Linked DNA regions of Homo sapiens: region 1 is linked to region 2. The links are contacts of gene promoters, found by promoter capture Hi-C in human tissues and cell types (Jung and others, 2019). All regions are on one chromosome and are shown on one strand. The core of a region is centred on a gene start or on the middle of the fragment in contact, and the rest is flanking DNA. Distances in the headings are between cores, read along the strand shown. Region 1 holds the start of ZNF599 (zinc finger protein 599). Region 2 holds the start of WTIP (WT1 interacting protein).

Region 1 (2,700 bases), core at 10-2,509, 290 kb before region 2:
ATGTAATGCTTTTACTTTTCACAGTGTCCAGGATTATTGCCCTCTTCATGTGGGCTACAGGTTTGGGTGGTGGGCTGAAAGTGTCTTGATGAGACAAGATCTGGTGACCCTGAGTTGCTGGGCATAAGCTGGGCCATCTGGTTTGTGCCTGGTTCTGGCTTCCCTGGGGGCTGGAGGGGCAGATGGGGAGGGGTCAGATCCTGGTTGCTGTGAATTAGAGATGAACAGTGACACGCCATCTTACATCACAAACTAGAAACCATGTCAACTCCACTCTTCCCTTAGGGCTGCAGGTAATTAGTCTCAGTGATCCTAAGTTTTGAATCATGTAAGAAAGTATCCCTTGGGCAATAGGTCTACCTGTATATTAGGAAACCCTCCTGCATATACCGTTTTAAAAAGATGCATACGCCAAATGCTGCAACGTATTATTATGTAAAATTTAAACAGTATTCATGAGGCTCCTGTTGAATCAGTCAACGTATTTGTTTTGACAAATATCAGAGTCTGCAAAGAAGTATCTCAGACCCTCCCCTAGCAGTGTATTGTGATGATGTTGCCAATAATACAGAATATTAATAATGACAGCAATAGCTCTTATGTTCTTATCGGTATGTTCCAGGCCCAGTGCTAAGCAATTCTTAGTTACTTCCCACCAAACAGGTGGCTTTGTCTCATTTATTTACTGGAATTTAAAGAGTCTGGTTCTCAAATGTTTTGCAGCATCCACTTTTCCTGGACAAGTTAAGCAGAGGGCTGGGTCCCACCCCCCAGAGTACCTGATTCAGTGGGTGGGGACTAAGAACTTGCATTGGTAACAAATTCGCAGGTAATGCTGATGTCATCTGAAAATTACTGATAGGGGAAATTTTAATATTATCATATTAAATAATTATCTTCATTTTCCTTAGGAATCTCCATCTCAAGGCTCAGAGAGATGAACTGCTGGCGCAGGGATACACAGGGAGGAAAGTCAAGGCGTGAGTTGCCTGGTAGAGACATTTGAGAGTGGGTCATTGCCTCAGATAATTTCCACGGAACTCTGTGTGCCTCTCCTTTAAGAAGAGGTGAAGCCAATCCCTTTCTTGGGAGCCTTGAGAAGCCGCCTCACCGAGAACAGAAAGTGCGCTCCAGGTACCACCCGGATTCCGTCAAACTACATTACCCAGAAGGCAGTGCTACAAGGGACGGAAGCCGACCCCAAGCCATAGACGGAAGGCGCAGAGGGGCGTTCCCGTAGCGGCGTGGGCGGGACTTCCGGCGTCCAGTCTTCGTCCGCCGTTAGGTTGCGGCTGCTGTGGTTGCCAACGCTACACTGGGTAGAACGCCAGACAGGGGCCACTTTTCGAGACCGAGTAGAGACGGACAGTGAGGAGGATAGGACCCACTTACACGCTTTTATGTCAGCCGCGATCCCACCCCCACAAGCGTCTGCAAAACCCTTCCTGGGGCCTTGGCGACAGCCCTGTGTCCTCACGGCGCGCAGAGGCGGCGCCGCGAACCTTGTGTGCATTTTACACGACGGCGGGGACTGAGGTCCCTCGCAGCCCAGAGCCGGAGCCCGGGGTCGGCCGAGCCCGCAGGACCGGCTTCCTCGCCGACTCTCACGGCCTCACCCAGCCCCCTGGGCCCATGGCGGCGCCGGCGTTGGTGAGTGGAGGGTTCCGCAGCCCGCGCGAGCTCGGGTCACCGCCCGCATGCACCCATCCGCTGTAATACGGCGGATGCCGGGACTCTGTGCTTCTCCCTTTTGATGCCCTAGGTTATGGAGATCCCGGGAGAGGGTGAGGTGAGAGGGCAGGGCTAATCACTTCCTACCCAGGGTCCTGAATCCAGGACAGGAGTTGTAAGGAGAGGTCCCTGTCTCTGGCTCTAACCTGGAGCTGTCGCCTCGCTGCCCTCGGCCTCCATTCCCTCGGGTCTAAAATGCGAGTCTCAGTAATTTTCTCTGTGGAGGGAGCTGGAGAGGGTACGCTTGTGACGTGGGTCCTGTCTTTCACTGCTCGGAGAGCATCACTCTAGGTGCCGTCTTTGAAGAAGGACTCTCTAGGTCCTGCTGTTGTTTTAGGGGATCATTCCAGCGGAAGTCTGGCCCTACCAAAAGCTGGGAGAGGGAATGAGAGCCTCGAGGGCAAGAGGTGAGGCGGGAGCAGCATTTTTGGCAGGAGGCTAGAAGACAAGAAGCTCATTGGATTTATCTTTGCAGATGCCGTCTGTTTATTACAAATGAATCTGGCTTGCCGCCTAACAGCAGTGAATCCGTGCTTCTGTTTAACACATGCTCTTGTATTTGAAAAGCAAATCCAGCACAATATTCATTAATGACAGTGTACATGAATGTATGTCTCTTGGAGTGTGAGCACATAAGGCCCCAAGTTACTCTCCAGCATGTCACACTGTTTACTCCTCGTAGCTCTGATCACCTTCAGGAGTTGTCTATTCATTTTTCCTCACCTGGTCTGTTCTCTAACTTCAATCTAACCTTGTTCCAGGGTCTCTTCAGAGAGAGCTTCCCTGGTTGCATCATGTAAAGTCTCTCCCAGTCTTTGTGGTCTTCTCACTCTTGTGTTGTTTTCTAGAGTCTTCTGACTTTATCTTGATTGTTTATTGCTGAGGATCTGTCCCCCAACCCCAGAATGTCAGCTTCTGTTCTGTTTTTCATCCCCAGGCCCAAAACTATTCTGTTCTGGGCCTGTACCA
Region 2 (2,700 bases), core at 77-2,576:
ACAGTAAGCCGAGGACGCGCCGCTGCACTCCAGTCTCGGCGACAGAGGAAGACCCTGTCTCAAAAAAAAAAAAAAAAGAAGAAAGAAAAAAAAAAAAGAAGAAAGAAGAAAAAATTATCAGAAAATGGCTCAGTGTGCCCATGAACCTGACTTGCCTGTTAAGTTAGGAACCGCACATCAACTCACTCGGCCAGAACCCCTCGTGTGTCGGGGGACCCAGAGGCAGGGGTGAAGCCGCTGCTGGGGATCCAGGCGCACTCACTCACCCTTTGCGCTCCCCAGTCCCCAGGGGATGCACCTTCCTCGTCCCAACCCCGTGCACTGCTGCACCCCCAGCCAGCCCCGTGCTCTCCTCCGCTGATCCGGCCGCCTACCCGAGGCAGTCTCGGAACCCCGGACCCCAGCCATGCGCGCAGGGAACTGCCGGGCCGAGCGAGCTCACCGAAGTAGTCCCGCGCCGTGCGCGCCTCGAGCGCCCGCTCCAGCTCCCGGGTGAGCGCCTCCAGCCGCCGCTCGGCCGCGCTTGGGCCGCCCTCCCGGCCAGGGGGCAGCGGGAGTGCAGGCAGCGGGAAGGGAGCCGGCCCCGCAGGCTCCGGGGAGCGAGCGGGCGCGGGGCAGGCGCCGGGCGGGAGGAAGTCAGCGTAGGCGCCGGCCGAGCCCCGGGAGCCGAGGCTGGAAACGCTGGAGCGGGCGCTGCCCACCGAAGGCGGCCCGGGACCGGGACGCGGGTCCGAGCGACCGGAGCGCGGGCTGCCGTGGCGCTGGTCGTAGCCCAGGCTGATGCCGCTGGATCGGGCGCTGCCGCCACCGCCGCCGCCGTCGGACCCCGCCAGGCTGGCCCGTGGGCTGCCCGCAGGCTGCGCGCTGAGCTCCGGAACCGCCGCGCGCCGGGGACCCCGCTCCCCGCGGCTCAGTCCGTCCGCCCCGGCCTCGGGGCCGCCGCTGCCCTTCCCTCTGCGGCCCAGCGCGGGCGCCGCCTCGTCTCCAGGCCCAGGCCGCGGCCCCCGCCGCCCCCGACCGGGAGAGCCGCACCCGGGCTCCAGCTCCCGCAGGGCCAGCCCGGCCAGGAGTAGGGCCGCCTCGTCCGCGCCCGCCCTGGAGCGCTGCATGGCCCGGCCCGCCGGCCCTGGCGCGTCACCTCCGCCTCCGCTTCCCGCCGCCGCTCCGGCCGGGCCGCCGCATCGTCCGCCCGAAGCCCGGAGCCCGCCCCGGGACCCCTGGGCGCGGGGCGGGGCGGGGCCGGCGCCGGGCCGGGGTCGTTCCGGCGGCCACGCGCGGGCCGGGGGACGCGGCGCCCTGCTCGGCGGCGCGCGCGGCGGAGGAATGTAAGCTCCCAGGCGCCGGGCCGCGCCCCCTCCTCGCCGCGGCCTCGCGCGGGGCGGAGGGACTCCTTTGCGGGGGCAGGAATGCGAGGAAGGAGACGGCGCTGCGGCCTCTGGAATGTGGGGGGAGTGGCGGCGGCCGCGCTGCGCCGGGACCTCGGAGGGGCGTGGAGGCCGGGCCAGGACGCAGGGGCGGGCGGCGGAGGCACCGCGGGGAGAGCCCAGGGTCTGCGGGGCGCCCGGGCCGTCGGGCCGCTGGGAAGAGCTCGGATTTCCGCAGGCTGAGCTGGAGGCAGCTGGCGCCATCCGGGCCGGAGAGATCCAAGCAGTCGACAGCTTTCCCCACATCCCGCCCCATCTCCCTTCCCTGCGCCGCCTTGCTCTCCGGCGCTGCAGGGCCGACCCAGCTCAGCTTGGAACCCACGGCGCTTCGCCCGTCCCGCGCCCAGGAATACTGTGCGCCTAGCGCAGATGCGTCCCCACGACCCCCTGCCTGGCCCGGGGCCATGTGGCCGCGCACCGGCCTCTGAAGCCCCCATCTGACTGCTGGGGAAGGCGCCCAGAACTAGGAGCGGGTTGGTTGGGGACTGGTCCTCGCGCTGGGTCGCTTCGCCCAGGCCCCCAAGGCCAGGCTAGAAGCAGGCCTCAGGCTCAGAGCCGGTGGGCGGCGAGCCTCCCCTGTGGCCATCACAGGCAGTCCCCGTGAAATATGGGGACTCCTCCCTTTTCCAGCACCTGCATCCAGGGTGGTGGGTGAGGCTTCGAGGGGAGGTCCTGGAACCAGCGGGGCCATAGGGGCCACATAGGTGGGGAATCGAGAGGTGACTAGGGCTTCGTGCCCAAGGACACAACTAAAATCCCTTGTACAAGTCACACGGCTATAGGGAAGAAAACCAAACCGTTATCTGTCAGGGCCTGATGGATCCAAGAAAAGTGTTGCGTGAGAGAGTACTGTTTTCCAGGCCCTCTCTGCTCAGAGATTTTCGGGAAGGCGCCTACAGTGGCTCAGCGCGCAGGGAGCCCGCACGGGAACTGTCCCGGCCAGACCGCCCAGGGCAGTGTGGCCTCAACACCACTGAGCACCCGCTGGGGCCGCTAACCCCAGCACCTTCCCATAGCCTGCGGAGTTCCAGCCCCTGCCCCACCAGGGTAGGGGAAGTGGAAGCAAGCATTTCGTGTGCGCGGAGGGTGGGGGAGTTGCGCTGTTTTGTTTTTTTCAGACAAGGTGTCGCTCTGTCCCCCAGGCTGGAGTACAGTGGTGTGATCACAGCTCACAGTGATCACACACACCCCAGAGTCTCAACCTCCTGGGCTCAAGCAATCCTCCCACCTCGGACTCCTGAGTACGTAGGAGTACAGGCGCACACCACCACACAAA

The links. Contacts are between HindIII fragments. The study calls those that stand out against the background at their distance.
Region 1: a contact is called between the fragment with the promoter of ZNF599 here and the fragment with the promoter of WTIP in region 2, in 1 of the 25 tissues and cell types used here (heart right ventricle).

What each region holds. Positions count from the first base shown.
Region 1 is chr19:34,771,774-34,774,473 of GRCh38, reverse strand. ZNF599 (zinc finger protein 599) reads left to right here and starts at 1,259. Exons shown (of 4, transcript NM_001007248.3): 1 at 1,259-1,650. The coding sequence starts at 1,633. LOC124904696 (a long non-coding RNA gene) reads right to left here and starts at 1,127. Exons shown (of 2, transcript XR_007067234.1): 1 at 780-1,127; 2 at 1-207. RefSeq lists an enhancer at 1,329-1,438 and a silencer at 1,549-1,608. The HindIII fragment of the contact is 7,437 bases long and covers 1-2,700 here.
Region 2 is chr19:34,480,384-34,483,083 of GRCh38, reverse strand. It overlaps WTIP (WT1 interacting protein), which reads right to left and starts at 1,326. Exons shown (of 8, transcript NM_001080436.2): 1 at 443-1,326. The coding sequence starts at 1,109. RefSeq lists enhancers at 288-942, 943-1,598, 1,599-2,253. The HindIII fragment of the contact is 21,139 bases long and covers 1-2,700 here.